7 separate regions of the Homo sapiens genome follow, and regions 2, 3, 4, 5, 6 and 7 are each linked to region 1. Evidence: promoter capture Hi-C in 16 types of primary human blood cells and fetal thymus (Javierre and others, 2016). All regions are on one chromosome and are shown on one strand. Each heading gives the region's core, a stretch centred on a gene start or on the middle of the fragment in contact. The rest is flanking DNA. Distances are from core to core; before and after follow the strand shown. Region 1 holds the start of YIPF5 (Yip1 domain family member 5). Region 2 overlaps LARS1 (leucyl-tRNA synthetase 1). Region 3 has its middle 5.3 kb from the start of PLAC8L1. Region 4 holds the start of SH3RF2 (SH3 domain containing ring finger 2). Region 5 overlaps GRXCR2 (glutaredoxin and cysteine rich domain containing 2). Region 6 has its middle 5.0 kb from the start of PRELID2. Region 7 overlaps LINC01844 (long intergenic non-protein coding RNA 1844).

The links. The method cuts DNA at HindIII sites, captures the fragments that hold promoters and counts their contacts. A CHiCAGO score of 5 or more calls a contact.
Region 2: a contact is called between a fragment that was not itself captured here and the fragment with the promoter of YIPF5 in region 1, in 6 of 17 cell types (M2 macrophages, M0 macrophages, neutrophils and 3 more). The highest score is 13.3, in M2 macrophages.
Region 3: a fragment that was not itself captured here is called in contact with the fragment with the promoter of YIPF5 in region 1 in 1 of 17 cell types (M2 macrophages); the score reaches 6.2 in M2 macrophages.
Region 4: the fragment with the promoter of SH3RF2 here is called in contact with the fragment with the promoter of YIPF5 in region 1 in 2 of 17 cell types (M0 macrophages and M2 macrophages); the score reaches 10.7 in M0 macrophages.
Region 5: a fragment that was not itself captured here is called in contact with the fragment with the promoter of YIPF5 in region 1 in 2 of 17 cell types (M1 macrophages and M2 macrophages); the score reaches 7.1 in M1 macrophages.
Region 6: a contact is called between a fragment that was not itself captured here and the fragment with the promoter of YIPF5 in region 1, in 4 of 17 cell types (monocytes, M1 macrophages, naive B cells and 1 more). The highest score is 8.6, in monocytes.
Region 7: a contact is called between a fragment that was not itself captured here and the fragment with the promoter of YIPF5 in region 1, in 4 of 17 cell types (total B cells, naive B cells, fetal thymus and 1 more). The highest score is 6.0, in total B cells.

What each region holds. Positions count from the first base shown.
Region 1 is chr5:144,169,351-144,171,965 of GRCh38, forward strand. It overlaps YIPF5 (Yip1 domain family member 5), which reads right to left and starts at 1,309. Exons shown (of 6, transcript NM_030799.9): 1 at 1,185-1,309; 2 at 496-615. The coding sequence starts at 605. It overlaps KCTD16 (potassium channel tetramerization domain containing 16), which reads left to right and starts at 1,523. Exons shown (of 4, transcript NM_020768.4): 1 at 1,523-1,659. RefSeq lists an enhancer at 1,171-1,450. The HindIII fragment of the contact is 8,610 bases long and covers 1-2,615 here.
Region 2 is chr5:146,130,559-146,133,173 of GRCh38, forward strand. It overlaps LARS1 (leucyl-tRNA synthetase 1), which reads right to left. Exons shown (of 32, transcript NM_020117.11): 23 at 2,340-2,523; 24 at 461-551. Among named protein-coding and RNA genes, the nearest start is that of PLAC8L1, 26 kb to the left of the region's middle. RefSeq lists an enhancer at 2,601-2,615. The HindIII fragment of the contact is 1,595 bases long and covers 488-2,082 here.
Region 3 is chr5:146,109,575-146,112,189 of GRCh38, forward strand. No RefSeq gene overlaps it. Among named protein-coding and RNA genes, the nearest start is that of PLAC8L1, 5.3 kb to the left of the region's middle. The HindIII fragment of the contact is 1,496 bases long and covers 538-2,033 here.
Region 4 is chr5:145,935,284-145,937,898 of GRCh38, forward strand. It overlaps SH3RF2 (SH3 domain containing ring finger 2), which reads left to right and starts at 1,295. Exons shown (of 10, transcript NM_152550.4): 1 at 1,295-1,411; 2 at 2,540-2,615. LOC107986458 (a long non-coding RNA gene) reads right to left here. Exons shown (of 4, transcript XR_001742913.2): 4 at 418-480. RefSeq lists an enhancer at 1,033-1,610. The HindIII fragment of the contact is 1,154 bases long and covers 768-1,921 here.
Region 5 is chr5:145,864,061-145,866,675 of GRCh38, forward strand. GRXCR2 (glutaredoxin and cysteine rich domain containing 2) reads right to left here. Exons shown (of 3, transcript NM_001080516.2): 2 at 2,441-2,615. Among named protein-coding and RNA genes, the nearest start is that of GRXCR2, 7.6 kb to the right of the region's middle. The HindIII fragment of the contact is 211 bases long and covers 1,220-1,430 here.
Region 6 is chr5:145,839,079-145,841,693 of GRCh38, forward strand. No RefSeq gene overlaps it. Among named protein-coding and RNA genes, the nearest start is that of PRELID2, 5.0 kb to the left of the region's middle. The HindIII fragment of the contact is 9,611 bases long and covers 1-2,615 here.
Region 7 is chr5:142,747,236-142,749,850 of GRCh38, forward strand. All of the region lies in intron 1 of LINC01844 (long intergenic non-protein coding RNA 1844), which reads left to right. Among named protein-coding and RNA genes, the nearest start is that of LINC01844, 2.9 kb to the left of the region's middle. The HindIII fragment of the contact is 720 bases long and covers 956-1,675 here.

The sequences.
Region 1 (2,615 bases), core at 59-2,558:
AAAATGATTATCAACTGCTGTATGAAAATCGCCTGATGATTCGTAATAAGGAGCTTACATCATTAAATAATGTCACTAAGCACTTTCAATTAGCACTGATAAAAGTCTCAGAGTTGGACTGATTTAACTACTAACAAAATACTTTAATTTTTCACTGGTCCTATGAACTAACAGCCTATCTCCTAGGTACCTGAAGCTCCCATCATCTTCTAAATACAGAAATACTGTTACTAGAAAACAGTTCTTCAAACAAGCTACTTTTCCATTCATGGTACACCTGAAGAGTTTGCAGAAGACACTCAACTCTTAAATAGAACAATACCTTCGAAGCCAAGCCAGTGTCACATATCTCTCTAGAGGAAGAAGATTATGCATGAAAGATCATACTCCTGATAAAGGACATGTTCACATATTGTTTTAGGCAGAACCAAATATTCTAAATATGTGTTTTCACTGCAATGTAGACTAAATTAATTGCCAAAGATGAAAAGTTACTTGCTATAGGGTCCTCCACTTCCTCCATAATCATAGGACTGCTGTGACTGATCATCGATGCTGTAACTTGTCTGGTAGAAATCCGTGTTTAAGTTTTCAAAGCCTGACATTGCAAATAATCTGTAATAAAAGAGAAATGGCAAATATTCCTTATGCCCAAGGTTCTACTGAATTCGTTCCTGGCAGTCTGCTTAAGCAAATAGAAACACAACAAATATTTTTTCAGTAATTCGGAGAGGGGATGGGGGCGGAAAGTACGCAGCATTTGAACGACGGTAGCGGAGAGAGAGTAAGAAAATGTATATTCTTTTAAGTTGCGGCCCAGTAAGACAACTCCACCTTAAAGAGCTGATATGCCTTCCATTAGGGGCGAGGTCGTGGGAGTTGTGGTTCCATAAGCGGTCTAAAATATCAATAACAACAAAGATGATTTTTCACCTTAGGACTGGGCTTTACAGCTGACAAGGCGACTGCTTCCTTGCAAAATAAGGCCTGCGGCCTGCCAGGAAAAAGTGCAGAATCTGGAAGGTCGCGCCTGAGGTGCAGGGGACCGCGTCAGGGCAAGGGCTTGAATGAGAGCGAGGGTCTGAGCGAAAGGACCAGGGCGCGGCGCCGAAAGACGGCAACAAGCCCATTTGCACGGGTGTGGAGAGAAGCTGAACACTGTGCCACGGGCCTGGGTCACTCACCAAACTCTGAGGCTGCGCTGGCGGCAAAGGCAGTAGCTTCACTAATCCCAAACAACCCCCAAACTCTGTTTCAGACCCTGAACCAGCCCCGTTGCTACGTGTCACAGGGCCAAAGAACGGCTTCCGGGGCACGCCCGCTCGCGCAGGCGTGTTAGCAGGTTGGGCACCGGTGGGCGGGAGGAGGAGACACGAGTATGGAGCTTGCGCAGTATCTACCCAACCTGCGGCTGGCCCGTGCCAAAGAGGAAAGTGCTTCCGGCAGCCTGGTTAGGGGTGGAACCAGGAAAGCGCAGGCGTAGCAATTGCTGCTTACTCGTAGGTAGGAGGAGGAGTTTCTCAGACCTAGGTGATGGAGGAAGACTGGGAGGCGCTAAAATGAGACAGACGGAGTCCCCTCTCCTGTCCACAAACTACAATGCCTACAATGCCTCGGTGTCAGCATTTACTGTGATTCAAGCACTGTGCTAAAGTGTTTGTATGTATTATTTAATCTTTACAACCTAATGAGATGGTTACCCTATTTCCCTTTTGTAAGTGAAGCTATTAAGTATTCATTCATTCTGTGCTAGCTGCTGGGGATACTGTGGTAAATATAAGCTAGGTGACATCTACCCACCTGGAGTTGGTGGTGGAGAGGGGTAATCGAACACATACAAATGCATGTGAAATTGCTACTAATATTCTTTAGTGTTCCATAATTCTTTGAAAGAGTAACATTCATCTGGGAAGAAGAGTCTGTAAAGCCACTATAAGAGGGTTATCAAAGGGTGAGTGGGAGTTAGAGAAGACCAGAAAAGAGAAGAAAGGGCAACGGGAAAGGAGGATAAGGGAAAATAGCCTGAATATTTTAGGCAAAGAGAACAATGTGTGCAAGATCTGGGAAGCATGGTCTGAGGAAAGATGAAAATCGAGCTCTGAACTTCAGCATTATTAACATTTTGAGTCAGGATGTTTCTTTATTGGGGGCTGCCCTGTGCATGATGCTTAGCAGTAGCATCCCTAATCTCTAGCCATTAGATGCCAGTACTCCCCCCAACCAACCACCACCACCATCACCACCAAGTTGTGACAGCTAAAAATCTCTCCAGACATTGCCAAATCCAAATGTCCTTGGGGGCGGTGGGGGCAACATTAGCTGAATTTGTCAACCACTCTTCTAAGTGGAACCTGAGTGACTGGAACAGCAAGTGAGGGGAGCCACATAGGAGTTGAGGCTGGAATAACAGGAAGGGGCCAGGAAATATCCTGTGGGATTTGTGTGTTGGTTCTAAAAGAAGTGAAGATTGTGAACTGATGAGTGATGTTTAAATTGTTTTCTTTTGAAAATGATTGCTTTGGCTCCTGTGTTAAATCACTTTCCCAAGATGGTGGAATCCCGAATATTGTGACTCGAAATAAGATGCTATTAACTAATGAGCAGAACTTTCTTCA
Region 2 (2,615 bases), core at 35-2,534, 2.0 Mb after region 1:
AACTCAATGTGATATTTTACACAGCTCATTGCGTAAAGCTACATTTTTACTTTAAGCACTTTAAATGCCAAACTTGAGGAAATACTGACACCTTGTGGAAAACCTCAGAAAACGCTTGCTCTCAAATTAATGGCAATTAATTACAATTTTGCCTTTGTTTTTATCAATTTTGAAATGTTTTCCTGGAAAGTATAGCTGAATTTTAGATTTAATCTCCTTTATATTAATGCTCATAGCTTAACTAGGAGCAGAATTATTAAATTAAATGGACACAATAGAAAAAATACCAAAGATAATAACTTAAAATCACAATTTATTGAAGAATTTAAAATTTTTCTGGCAGGATTTTCAGTCTACACTTTAGGCGAGTAATTGTGCTATAGCAGGAAGAAAAAAGGGGGAAAATACATAATGTTCACATTGACATGTTTTATAGCTACCAAAAGAATCAACAGCCTACCTGAAACTCAAAAAACCCTGTTTTCAAAGCTTCTTTAAACATCATCTTTTCATAGTTTTGATCTGTTTTTATAATTCCTGCATTCAATTCACTATTGAATACGGGGAAAAAAAGGTTATTGAGTTTAAAGGCACTTATACATAGCTATAAAAAACTGCTGCATACACAAATTTAAAATACTGCTTTTTAATATACAAATTTGAAATACTGCTCATTTAAGCAGTAAAATGAGAACAATGCCCAGAACATTTAAAACTGCTCAACACAACACCATCTTTGCGTTCCTTAAAACAAATTACTGCAATCTCTCTATTGTCTATCCATCCTTAAGTACTGTCATCTGACACTGCTTAGGGCTCCTGTTTATGACAATAAATGATGCTTCTTCAGAAATTTCCTGATGGACACTTTATTCTTATAAAGCCCAAAATGCAACATGAAAATAGCCTAACTAAGGTTGTAGCCAAGTTTTTTTTTTTTTTTTTTTTTTTTTTTGAGACAGGGTCTCTGTCACCTAGGCTAGAATGCAGTGGTATGATCACAACTCACTGCAGCCTCAAACTCCTAGGCTCAAAGAATCTTCTCACCTCAGCCTCCCAAGTACTAGGACTACAGGCGCAAGCCACCACACCCAGCTAATTTTTTTTTTTTTTGTAGAGACAGGATCTCACTTTGTTGCCCTGGCTGGTCTCAAACTCCTGGGCTCAAGCAATCCTCCCACCTCAGCCTTTCAAAGTGCCTGGTTTACAGGCGTGAGCCACAGTGCCTGGCCATAGCCAGGTTTTAATTATTGCATTTACAATAACTAATACTGGATATCAGAAAAAAATTTTCTCATACCAATCCAGGTTCTTCTTAATTTGGCCTAATCTGGCCCCAACCTGTTTCATTTCCTACCTCTGCCCACAAGATAATGTACTTCAAATAAATATCAGACCCTTTCCATGGCTTATCCACACTTTCTCCTCTCCCTGAAAACATTGTTTATTTTTCAAGAAACCCAGAATTTGGCCGGGCGTGGTGGCTCACGCCTGTAATCCCAGCACTTTGGGAGACTGAGGCAGGTGGATCACAAGGTCATGAGTTCGAGACCAGCCTGGCCAACACAGTGAAACCCCATCTCTACTAAAAATACAAAAAATTGGCCAGACGTGGTGGCAGGCACCTGTAATCCCAGCTAGTAGGGAGGCTGGGGCAGAAGAATAGCTTGAACCTGGCAGAGGCTGCAGTGAGCTGAGATTGTGCCATTGCACTCCAGCCTGAGTGACAGTGCGAGACTCTGTCTCAGGAAAAAAAAAAAAGAAACCCAGAAGTCACATGACATCTCTGAATTCTCCTTGTCTCTATTATTGTGCTTAGAAACTGGGTGTTTGTCTCTCTTGCTAGACAATAAGGATCAGGTCTCATTCATCTTTATAATACCAGTGCGTAGGATGACTCCAAAGATATTTATCCTTTTCTTTTAATCTACTTTTCCTTTAACCATTTTGCCCTACTCGAAAACAAGACAACATGGTAAAATGGTTATGAGAACAGACTTTCAAGACAGACAGAAGCAAGTTCATATCCCAAGTTTGCAACTACTAGCTTTAAGGCATTTAAGGAAATACTTAATTGTTCTAAGCTTCAGTTTCTTTATTTATAAAATAGAGCTAATAATATCTGTATTAAATAAGGTTGCTTTGAGGTTAAAGTCAGATAATGGACACAAAATACTTAGCATAGTACCCGGCACAAGTAAGCCTTCAATGAACACTAGCTATTATTATCATTAGTTTATTTTATTAAAAAAAAAAAAGAAAAGAAAAGAAAAAGAAAACAAAAATGCACCAGGACTAAGTAACTCTAAAACACAAAATGATTGGGATCTACAGATTACCTGGCAAAAACTCTATCATTGAAAGTGCTGGCAGGACCACTTCTTAGGCTGTCCCAGTTGGCAACCATTTCTTTCACCCACTCTACCCAGGTGTACAGACGGAGAATACCTGCATCTGCCATGGCTTCCACAAAGTTGGCATCTTCTACAGTGTCACCAGCATCAGCCAGAGCCAAACGCATTCCTGGAAGAAGAAAAAAAAATTCAATGCATTAAAAATATGGTTACTGAGTATCAACTGTGTCCTATGTGTCCAGTTGGATACCTTGCAAAGCC
Region 3 (2,615 bases), core at 36-2,535, 1.9 Mb after region 1:
CATTCATGAGGAAGCCACCCTCATGACCTAATCACCTCCTACAGGCCCCACCTCTTAATACCAACACCGTGAAGATTAAGTTTCAACATATAAATTCTGGGGGGACATGAACACTCAGATCATAACAGCAGGATATTCATATAAGCCTCAAAGTATCAGCTCACAGACTACTTAATTACAAAAAGGAAGAGTAGCTTTTCAACCGAGAAATATGATGCTAATCAAATCCACAATACATTAATCCTGACATGATCCAGTGGGAAACATCACCTATGTAGTAATCTTGCCAAGAATTTTAAATCTGATTACAACCATGAGAAAATACAGAAATCCAGATTGTAAGCATCATGCTAACGACCAGCTTGATGTCTTCAAAGATGTTACTGTCATGAAAGATCAAAAAAAGAACAGAGAAACTACCCTAGTTTAAAGGAGATTAACAGACCTAACCACAAAATGTAATACTTGATCTTTGAATCCTGAGAGTTTTTCAAAGAACACATTATTGATGAGACATTGGGGAAGTTTTACTAGAAAAGCTTATTACCTAATATTATTGTATCATGTTAAATTTCTTGGGCATAATAACAACACTGTGATTATATAGGAGAATGTCCAAGTTCTTAGGAGTTGCGTGATAACCTATGGGAAGATGAAGTGTCATGGTGTCTGTAACTTACTGTCAAATGGTTCTGAATTTTTAAAAAATATTTTCTAAATACAATGTGTTATCCTGGATAGGATCCCATAATAGTAAAAAAAATTAATAGAAAAATTGGTGAAATCCAAACAAAGTATACAATTTAGTTAATCATAATGTACTCATGTTAATTACTTAGTTTTAACAACTAAACCAAGGTTAAGTAAGATGTTAACAGGAGAAACTGTGTAAAAGATGTACAGGATCTCTCCATATTAAAGATGCAACTTTTATGTAAGTCCAAAACTATTCCAAAATTAAAAGTTTATTTTAAAAATAGATACTTAGAGAGATAAAGTAAACGTGACACAATATTAACAATTGGCAAATCTAGGTGACAAGCGCATGGATGTTTACTGGCCAATTCTTTCCACTTTTCTGTAGGCTTAAAATTTCTCGAAATGAAGTGTTAAAAGAAAATAAAACTACTGAAGGTTAAAAGTAAATGAATGGAAAAGATAGTCTGCATGGACGTTAACCAAAAGATAACTGGTGTTACTATATTGTTAGGCAAAGTGGTCTCTAGGCAAAAAATAAATTAATTAAAAATAAAGAGAAATGGCCGGGTGCAGTGGCTCACGCCTATAATCCCAGCACCTTGGGAGGCCAAGGCAGGTGGATCACGAGGTCAGGAGTTCGAGACCAGCCTGGCCAAAATGGTGAAACCCTGTCTCTACTAAAAATACAAAAATTGTGGGGGGACGGGGGAGGGATAGCATTAGGAGATATACCTAATGCTAAATGACAAGTTAGTGGGTGCAGCACACCAGCATGGCACATGTATACTAACCTGCACATTGTGCACATGTACCCTAAAACTTAAAGTATAATAATAATAATAATAATAATAAAGAAAAAGAAAAAAAATACAAAAATTAGCCGGGCGTGGTAGCAAGTGCCTGTAATCCCAGCTACTCGGGAGGCTGAGGCAGGAGAATCGCTTGAACCTGGGAGGCAGAGGTTGCAACGAGCCGAGATCGTGCCACTGCACTCCAGCCTGGGCAAAAAAGAAACACTTTCTAACTAGAAAAAGTTCAACTTACCAGAAGGAATATAATCTGAATTTATATGTACCTAACAAAACAGCCTCAAAATATATAAAACAAAAACTGTCAGAATTATAACAAGATACAGGTAAATTTCATTGTCATGAGAGATTTTGGTATACCTCTCAAAAACAGAAAGAGAGAAAACAGTAAGGATATAGGTTTGAACAATTCAATCCACAACTCTGACCTAATGGACACATACAGTACTTTTGCATTTACAGAATATATATTTTTTTCAAGCTCAAATGCAACATTTATAAAAACTGACATATACTGGGCCAGAAAGCTTATCTCTAGCGACCAGAGAAGGCAAAAGGCAGACCTCTGTGGTGCTGGCACTGTGCCATTCTTCAACTGTTTGGTGACTGTGCAGGTGTTTGCTTTATTAATAAATTCTTTTTTTGGAGGTGGGGAGAGAAAGGAAGTTCATTTTTTGTGTGTGTATATTTTTTGCTCACTTTTTGTGTATGTGCATTGTATTTCAAAACTTAAAAAGAGTTAAAATCCTCTAGGAAGGCACTAACATAAGTTATATATAACATTATTATTATGCACCCAATTATATTATTGTTAATAATAGAATAAGCCCAGTGTAGCCTGTTTTTCCTTCAGCATTTCAACTAACTGCTGGTTCTTCTGTTGAGTACCAGATGAAGTAATGGGCTTATGCTCAGACGACTCCTTATACAAAACATTTGTATCTCTACACATAAGAAGCATATTCAGCACAGCAAGAAGCTTATTCTAAGAGAGACACACAGAAATCAAGACTGAAAAAACAAAGGATCCATGAATCTCAACTCACACCTAATCCAAAACAGTACAGGTTCATAAGATGAACACAATCACAATATTATTTTCCTTTC
Region 4 (2,615 bases), core at 45-2,544, 1.8 Mb after region 1:
GTAGCCAGTTTTGTCCATTATCTTTTGACCTCTTGCCCTCTTAGGGGAGGCTTAGCTCCCTTGAACCACCTCTTCACCTCTTTTTTTTTTTTTTTTTTTTTGTCGCCCTGGCTGGAGTGCAGTGGCACGATCTCAGCTCACTCCAGCCTCCGCCTCCCAGGTTCAAGCGATTCTCCTGCCTCAGCCTCCTGAGTAGCTGGGACTTCAGGTGCGCACCACCATGCCCAGCTAATTTTTGTATTTTTAGTAGAAATGAGGTTTCACCATGTTGGTCAGGATGGTCTTGATCTCCTGACCTTGTGATCTGCCCACGTCGGCCTCCCAAAGTGTTGGGATTACAGGCATGAGCCACTGCGCCTGGCCAGCCTCTTAAAGTTATATCACTCCATGACATTGTTAAGAGCACAGCCCACTTGCCTTCTGCTAGCTGTGACTCCCGAGATGAGTTATTTATCCTCTCTGTGTCTCAAGTTCCCTCATCTGCAAGATGAAAGTAAAGAATAGTTTAGTGTCTCCTTGGGTTGTTAAGGGGTTAAAGGGCTAACACAGGTAAGGTATTTAGAACAGTGGTTGACACAGATAAGGACTACCCTGGCATTAAGATTGTTATTATTCACTTAATCGGATACCTTTGTAATTTTACATGAAATGTATTATCGATAAATCAAAAAATAGAAATATAGGCATAATCTGAGGATATGAAAAGACTACAGTGGATAACAGGCAGGAGGAGAGCTTGGAGGCCACTGCTTTTCCTTTTTTGAAAAAGCTTCTCTGTGCTTTGATTTTTCACGTATGTGTATATACGTGACACTAGTTTTTTAATTTAAACAGATTGAGCAAAAAGATCACTAAAGTCCCTCTTATCTCTAAATTCAGAGATTGACTATGATTTTCAAAGAGCAATATTTTCTAGGTGTCCGACTTATCCTTGTTTTCATAGCTTGACCATTTTTACTTTTGACCTTCCCAGGAAATCCTTATGAAGATTTAAAATAAACACAATCACTTTGGTATGTTTATAATGGAGCAGGTTCTGACTCCTTGGATACTACAGAAAACGGGAAAGGTGAAAATATGAACTTTGTAAATACTTGGCCTTAGGGACTGGCTTATATTTTACCTCTTACAATCTTTTCCCAGAAGCAATTCAGTAAACTGAAGGAAAGATCATAAAGTTAACAACTGCAACAACAAAAGCGTGGTAAGTAGGCAGCGCCCTGGCAGTGAAAGCGTTAACAGGGCTGGGTAAGGCGATCCCTTGAAATGAGTAAGACTGAGTGGTTAAAGTTTTCAAAGCGGTTGGCAGCAGCGGCGCTTGGAGGAAAGGAAGCCGGTTGGAGGGCGCAGCGCACCCCTGCTGCGCGGAGGAGGGGGCTGAGCTGAACTCAGCAGAAGTTACATGCACAAGGTTAGTGGCCCCCACACGCCTCCCCAGCCCGCTGCCGCGCTGACATCTTTGGAGAGGAGGCTTAGGAAGGCGAGGCGCCATCGCTCATTCTCGGTCGTGTCTGTCCTGCTTACTAGTCGCTAGTGGGGCCACTGGCCTTCTCGCCAAACCTCTGGGCTCGGTGCTTACCGAAGCCCTGGCACTTGTGAGGGACAGCTGACTTCTTCCAGACTTTTCTAAACTGGAGGCTTCTTTTCATACATCCAAAAGGAAACTTGTTTCTGGAACAAGTACTGTTTTCAGAGTACACACACACACGACCCCTACCTGTATATGCTGCCCCAGTACGGTTTTTACAGGTCGTGACCACAATCCAGAATTCCTATCTGCTTCATTTGAAATTGAGAACAATGTCAAAGTAACTAAACAGGCTGCACTACTTTACCTTGTGGGAGGAACATTGTCTCTGAGCCTAAGGTAATCGGGATGAGGAGAGAAAAAAAAAAAAAGATGAAAAAAGAAAAGAAACAAAGCTTCCAAGCACCCTGACCTGTGGTTAAGGCAAAACAATTTTTGGAAATGGGTTTCTAGTGGAAATTTTTCTTGTACATTGCTAGAATCATGTGGGAAGGTATATTGTGAAGGAAATAATTCTACATCTGCATGAGATTCAGATAAACTTACCCACCTAAACTAATCTGCATGTGGTGCAGATAATAGATACATTTAGATTTAGGGGAAGGAGGAGGAGGAGATAGCTTCACAGAAATTGCGTTCGGAGGGGGCTTTGTTGTAAGAATTGAGACTGTCCAGGAGCTTTCCCCGGGCAGGGGGTAAAGGACCTCTTCCCGCCCTGGCTGGTAGAGAGGGGTTGGGGGGCCACTTCAGCAGGCCAGTTTATCTCCCTGCTTTCCTGTCCACATAGGCAATAAGCAGTCAGTCTTGTGCTGAATGTTCCCTCTGATCCTCACAGCAAGCACGAGTTGAGTCTTATACCTGCTAGCATTGAATCAGAATGAGTCATTTGAAACTTGGGTGCCGGAACAAAGTACTTGCAAACTGCCTTATGAGACACTGCCTCAATGTAGGTGGGATATACCTCTCGGAGCAGTCACATTTTTTTTTCTCTCCTCTCCCTCCTTCAAGCAGGCAAAAATTCTGACGTTCTCAAGAGACCAGCTCTGCCCCCGTGGCTCAACTGACCCTACCATGTGGACGCTGCTCC
Region 5 (2,615 bases), core at 75-2,574, 1.7 Mb after region 1:
GCAACTCTGATGAGGGGTGTAAGGTGCCCTGACAGGTCAATCCTAGAGGATTTTTTTCCTCATGGAAGCCAGGGAAGATCCCTCTGAGGAAGTGATGCCTCCTCTGAGATCTCAGAAGCTGAAGGCAGGGTGGTGGGAGTCTGGGGACATTCCAGGCAGAGGGGATTGGCCTCTGGTAGGAAAGAGAAAATAATATATGAGGGATGGAGATGGGGAGATGGGCAGTGTGTCTGGGGCCAAGAGCATGAGAAAAGATGTGTAAGAGATGATGCTGGAGGGGCCAGCAGAGGCCAGGCTACACAGAGCTTTCTGGGACAAGTAAGGAGTTTGCGGTTTTATCCCAAGCAATGAAAAGACACTGAAAGCTTAGAGGGGGTGACTGATATGGTTTGGCTCTGTGTCCCTACCCAAATCTCATCTTGAATTGTAATCTCCATGTGTCAAGGGGGGAACCTGGTGGAAGGTGATTGGATCATGGGGGCAGTTTCCCTCATGCTGTTCTCGTGATAAGTGAGTTCTCACCAGAGCTGGTGGTTTTAAAGCATGGCACTTTCTCAAGCTCTCTCTCTCTCTTTCTCTCCCCTGCTGCCATGTAAGATGTGCCTTGCTTCCCCTTCACCTTCCACCAAGATTGTAAGTTTCCTGAGGCCTCCCCAGCCATTTGGAACTGTGAGTCAATTAAACCTCCTTTGTTTATGTATTACTCAGTCTCAAGTACTATCTTTAGAGCAGTGTGAAAACGGACTAATACAGTGACAAAGGGGGTGACCTAATCAGATTACATTTAAAAATATCTTTTTGAGTGTGGGGGCAGGTTGGAAAGGTACCTGAATGGATGTGAGTGGAACTTTCAGAACCTTTTGCTAGAGTCCCAGTTGCTTATGCTCTAGGGGAAGGGAAGGAGAGGTAGAAAGGAAGAGAGAAAAAAGTAGATTTTAGAGAAATTGTGGAGAGGTAGATAGACTTATGATATGGGAGAAATGAGATAAGAAGGAGCCTTTGGTGCCTCTTGTCTAAGGCCATTACTCAAAGCCCAGTCATGACCTTCTTGTTCTCATCATCTGAACCCTCCCAGAGTAGAGACATCACTCAAGTTCCAGAAAGCCCCTGACCAATTTTTTCATAGCAATCCCAGGAGATTACAGTGAATCCCACAGAAAACATCAAGTCCCAGGAGATGGAATCTAAGAGAGAGAAAATTCATTCATCCAGCTACCCAAGCTTTTAATCTTTCGGCTTAAATGCATCAAAATTGCTTCCTCCACCCCCAACCTCACACTGTGAATGAACGAATATCAGCCCTCCTCCCCCTGGTCTGAGCATGTCTGAGCTATGGTTTCCAAGGTGGTGCGTGCACACTTCTAAGGGGTATGAGAGGAAAACATTGGAATATTCATATTTACTTTTTATCTACAATTAGGCAGATATTAAGCTTTATTAACATTTTTAAAAGAATTTTTATACTAACTTTTAATAAACTTGTGGACACTGACAGCCATATTAGGTCAGGCAGTCACTAGACAAGTGTGGTACCCAAGGGACCCTGGAGTAAGAGTGATGTTCAAATGTTGCTGACAGTAGCGTCCAGCTCACTTGTTCACTTTCAGCACATTGCAACATGTTGCAGTTTACTTGTGCCTGGTCTAGTGGATTTACAAAGGATACTCCTTAGTTTTAGCTAAACTAATCTGCCAAATGGAATCATGACTTTACATGATGTCTTCCAGGAGACTATGGATCAAGGATAACACCAATAATAGAAGAACAAGTGAACCCATAAGAAAAGATAGGGCCAGGCCAGGCACGGTGGCTCATGCTTGTAATCCCAGCACTTTGGGAGGCCGAGGCAGATGGAACACTTGAAGACAGGAGTTCGGGACCAGCCTGGACAACATGGTGAAACCCCATCTCTATTAAAAATAAAAAAAAATTAGGCATGGTGGTGGGTGCCTGAAATCCCAGCTACTCAGGAGGCTGAGGCAGGAGAATCACTTATCCAGGAGACAGAGGTTGCAGTGAGCAAAGATCACGCCATTGAGATCCTGCCCAGGCAAAAAGAGTGAAACTCCTTCTCAAAAAAAAAAAAAAAAAGAAAGAAAGAAAAAAGAAAATATAGGGCTGATATATTTTTCCACCTCTAGAACCAGCTGTTCATAAACCACACTGCACAGTGAAAACAATAAATATTTAATCAGATCTAAAAAGAAGTCAGCCAAAAAATTAAAAATTTAGAGTATCTGAAATATGGACTTATAACTGCTATTGCTAACAATGTACCATTAAAATATAACAAATGTTAAAATTCCTCATATCTTCAAGTTTAGGTATCTTAAGTATTCATATTCAAAAGGTTTTACTTAAGCAGTGCACAATCAAGCCAGCTTGGAGACCATTGCTGTAGGGCCAGCTCCGAGCAGGACAGTCAAGCTCCCCAACGCACCTGTGTATACCGGTTTTGGGGTAATGTGCTTTCTGCCTCCACCAAAGGTCTATCGTGCTGGTCCCTGCCTCCATAGCTTTCTTCTTTGTTCATCAGAGACTCTTCCTCAGCCTCCTCTTCCTTCTGGAGAATTTTCCTCACAAAATCTCTCTTGTCCATTGGGGTTCGAATGATT
Region 6 (2,615 bases), core at 59-2,558, 1.7 Mb after region 1:
TATTATTCACTCCTCTCTATCCAGTGCCTAGTAAAATGCTTGGCACCTAGTATATGTTGAATAAACTCACGAATGTACTTAATATAAAATATGACCTTGAACAAAATCCTTCCTGCCCCTGCAGCTCAGTTTTTCCGTCAACAAAAACTGAAATGCAGGGGCAGAAACTGAGTGGGCCAAGACTGTCTCTAAAATCCAGCAACCTGACATTTGAGATGTGAGCTAGAGACACAAGCCAAGGCAGGGAACAGGGATATAGTTATTGAAACCAGGGTACAGAATGAGAATTTGCAAGGAAAACAAAGCAAAGTATCAGAATAGATTCAAATATGTAAAATATCATGTATGATAAGTAAGCGTGGGTACTAAGGAGACAAAAACTGGAGAAGAAGGATGAGAAGTGATGGCAGGGCAGGGGAGAGAGGAGCAGTGTTAAAATTTTTTAAAAGAGCTAAGGAAGACCTCTCTGAGAAAATGACATTAAAGTAGAAAAGTTGCAAGAAGAGGAGGGCAAGTCATGCTCGTATTTGGAGGAGGATCATTCCACGTAGAAGGAATGGCAGGTTCCAAGACCTGAAACAGGCATTCTCCTGATACATTTCAGAGCTACAAGGAGGCCAGTATGGCTGTTGCAGAGTTCCTGAGATATAAGGTCAGAAAACATGAATCTAGGTCACATAGGGTCCTCCAGGCCATGGTAAAGATGTTGGCTTTATCTGTATGAGATGGGAGGCCATTGAGAGTTTTGAGCAGAGGAGAGACATGATCTCAACTGTATATTTTAACAGAATCATTCTGGCTACTTACAGTTTGGAGAAGTGACTATGGGGAGGCAAAGCAAAGAAAGAGACCAATTAAGAGGTATGATATTTTACATATATATATGTAAAATTTCCTCCCCAACTCCCACTCCTCACTAAACTCCACTCCTCCACGTATAAATATAGATTCATGGTTCCTGGCTGATAACTCCCATAGCCCTTGCTACAGTCTTTTGCTATAGTATTGGGACACTTTAGGCCTCAGAAGCAGGCTTTTCTCTCTCCGACCTTCTTCTGACTTCCCTTCACCTGCCCAAGGCAGGACTCTAATCTTTCCTGGCTTTTCTGATTGATTTCTCATTCCAGAGAGTGTCCCACCCCATACCCTGCAGGAAGAAATGCTGCACAGGAAGGCCAAGAAGAATCTAGACAGGCGGGCCTTACTAGGTTTCCTGACTCAGTCTGTTAGTATTATATCATATCCTTTTTTGCCTAATCGTATTTCTACCTGGTTATCTTCAATCATGTCTATCCAATGGAGTCTTGCTAAGAGACCCAAAAGAACAGGGTTCAGAGAGCTCCCAGCTAGCCAAACATATGGAGATTCCTGGAGGATGGTGCATCCAGGGAGGGCATGGAAGCTCCATGCCTCTTCCCCTATACCTTGCCCTATGCATCTCTTCAGCTACATCCTTTGTACTATCCTTTATAATAAACTGGTAAATGGAAGTAAGTGTTTCCCTGAGTTCTATGAGCTGCTCTAGTAAATTAACTGAATCCAAAGAGAGGATCATGGGAAGCCCATCTTGAAGTGGGTCAGTCAGAAGTTCTGGAGGCCAAGACTTGCAACTAACATCTGAATGGGGGACGGTGGGGACAGCGGAGTGATCTTGTGGGACTGAGTCCTCAACTTGTGGGTTCTGAATTATCTCCAGGTAGTGTCAGAATTGAATTGGAGGACACCTGGCTGGTGTCCACTGCAGACCTGAGTGCTTGCTTGCTGTGTGGGGAGAAACCACACACACATTTGTATGTGTGCTGGCAAACCTTAGAATTTCATGACCTTATTTGGTCTTTAAGATAGCAAATATCTTACAAAGATATTTCATCATACATGAGGGCCAAAAATTGCAGTTGTGATGGTACTGCAGATAACATTATTAATAATATTATGTATTAGTTTATTTGACTCTCACCACAATTGCCATTACTGAAGGAGGGCAGAGGAACTCAGGAGTTTCATACTGACCTAGGCAACATGGTGAAACCTGGTCTCTACAAAAAATAGAACGTCTTCTGTGTTGATGATTTTTGTAATGTGAGAGCACAGGAAAAAAACATGATTTGAGCTTGTTCTCCCCTCAAGAGGTGATTGCCATAATCTAGATAAGAGGAAATGATGGCTGAGACCACAGTGGTATCAGTGGTGATCAGTTTTTAGGTTCTGGATCCCTTGTGAAGGTAGAGCTGGAAAGGTGTGCTGAAAGATCAGAAGTGGGAAGAAGAAGAGCCAAGGCCCAGTCTGGCCACCATCTAGAGAAAGCCTGTCTGACTGTAGAGGGAAATAAAGCCAGATGTGTTCATTTTCAAAGTGCCACAAATGGATGGCTTGAAAAACATAAATTTATTGTCTCACAGCTTTGGATTCCAGAAGTCATAAATCAAGGTGTTGTTGGCAAGATGGATTCCTTCTGAGGGTTCAGAGGGAGAATCTGTCCCATGCCTCTCCCCTAGCTTCTAATAGCCCCAGGCATTTCTTAGCTTGTGGATGGTCTTCTTGTGACTTCACATTGTCTTCTCTCTACACTTGTCTGTTTTTGTGTCCAAATTTTTATAAGAACTTTAGATTAAGAG
Region 7 (2,615 bases), core at 66-2,565, 1.4 Mb before region 1:
AATTTGAAATCATGCAATGCTATTTAAAGGCTTGGCCAAACTTCAAAGTTGGTTGAATTCACTAGGGGTAACCTGGAATTTCTGTTTCCCAGAAAGGGATTTCTTGACATTTTCTCCTAACCTTGTGATGGTCCCTTATTCTGAGGACCCTATAGGATATTCACTGATTCTATAAGCATTTTTTGAGAACCTCCTCTGTGCTAGGCATGTGCTGGTAATATTGTGGTAGACAGAACATAGTGTTTGCCCTTAAGGAGCTTATAGTCTAGTCAGGAATATAGAACATGACATGGGCAATGAGTTCAGTTGTCTTTTTTTTTTTGAGCTACAATGCCACATTTAATATTCTTTCCAGTGATGCCTTGGACTAAGCAGGTACTTTCAATTTAAGGCAATGGGTCACAGTGTAAGGAAGACTTGGGGACAGATAGGGACACACAGGTAAGTGATTGGTCATGTTGCACATTAGCCCTATTACTTAACCTCACTGAGCTTCAAGTTTCCCCTCTGTAAAATGGGAATAATAATACTGGCTTTGAAGGGCACTGTAAGGATTAAATGAGGTAATACGTGTCAAACATCTATCATCGTGCCTGGTTCACAGCAAGTGCTCATAACTGTTAACACAGCCAATAAAGGTGAGAAATAGTGAGGATGTCAGTAACAATAAGAAAGAGTAAAAACTGTAACAATGAGATGGGGGTAGAAATAAAATATAGGCTGATGAGAGAAAAGGGTTCAATCACTGAAGCTATTTTCTCTGCAAGTCACCCCTTAAAATGTGTATTCGGATGCAATTTCCAGCCTTTAAAAAAATACATAAAGAGTCAACTTTTTATTAAATTTGTATGTAAAGGGCAGATATAGCTGAATGGGAGCTGGTTTAAACTGAGCCCAAACTTTTTTCCTTTTTCTTTTTTCTCTTGTCCTTTCCTTCCCTGGGTCCAGAACAATAAGCTTTGTTTAGAGGAAGAGTATTTACCCAAGGCCTGTTTCCACTTAAGATATTTCAGCAGGACAGTGAATAACCTCTTACACTATTGAGAAATTTTCACTGTCTGGAATTACTGGAACAAAGATGTCATTATTAAAACAAACTTTTGACCTTCTATAGAACGGTCACTTTAGCTACAAGAGAATCATTCACAATGGCTTTATAAGAATGGAAGCTATGACATCATTATTATATACAACACTCTATCAAAGATCTTGATTGTGAGAATCAGTTAGAATTCTTTGGTGGCAAGCAACAGAACTAACTCTGGCTCACTTAGGCAAAAGAAACAATTTATTCCAAGGCTATCAGGGTTGCTTACAGATCTGAGGGAAAGGCTGAAAAACCAGGTTTCTGAGAGCACAAGAACCAGGGCAACAGCTTAGGAAGCAGAAACTAACAGATTTTTGGGGTCACCCGTACCAGATGAATCAACTTCATTTATTTTGTCTCTGCTTCAGCTCTCTCAGTATTTAATTTCCTGGGAGAGAAAATCTGGTTGGCCAAACTTGGGTCTTGGGCCCAGGGGGCAGCCAGAGGGCAGCAGAGCACCTTGATTGACAGTCCTACAAAGCCTTCCTCCAGTCAGTGAGGGGCAGGTAGTTCCTTGAGGAAACTGAGGCTTGGCCACCCAAAGTGGGACTAGATCATGGGAAGATATCAATACTTTCATACTACGCAAGCTTCTAGGGCAGAGATATCATGGAGGAATCATCACTTTACTTAAAGGGACAACTGAGGAACTGAATTAAAGTAGTTTGCCCAGGAGCCACAGGTAGTGGCAGAAAGGAAATGTTCTGACTCCTACCAGCCAAATGGGAATTTCCCTTATTCCATCCAGTTGGCTAAAGCAGTGGTTCAGAGACTTGGCAGTGCATCAGAATTACCTGTGGAGCTTGCTAAAAATAGAGAAGCTAGGTTTGGCATAGGGCTGGGGCATCTGTATTTTTAATAAGCTTCTTGTGTGATTCTGCTTACAACCAACTTGGAGGCCCACTACATCATCAAATTTCCATAGGATCTGATATAGGAAAAGAACATTGCAGAAATAAAAATGGGATAAGGTATGATACAGTTTGAATATTTGTCCCCACCAAATCTCATGTTGAAATGTGATCCCCCAATGTTGGAAGTAGGGCCTAGTGGGAAGTGTTTGGGTCACAGAGGCAAATCTCTCATGAATGGCTTGGTGCCCTCCTTGCCATAATGAGTGAGTTCTTACTCTATTAGTTCATGCGAGAGCTGGTTGTTTAAAAAGCCTGGCGCCTCTCCTCCATCTCGCCTGCTTCCTCTCTCACCATATGACTCATCTTCTCTCCTTTCACCTTCCTCCATGAGTAAAAGCTTCCTAAAGTCCTGACCAGAAACAAATGCTGGTGCCATGCTTTTTGTACAGCCTGCAGAACCATGAGCCAAATATACTTTTCTTTATAAAGTACCCAGTCTTGGGTATTCCTTTATAGCAATGCAAAATGGATGAATTTAGTAATTTTAGGGGAAAGGTTTGGGTTTGTTGACAACATTTTTTGAGGTCCAATTTGTGTTAGCTGATTTCATGGTTTGAGGTTTGAGGGAATGTGAGGACAGGGAGAGGTCTTTCCCTATTTGTGACAAGCCTGCA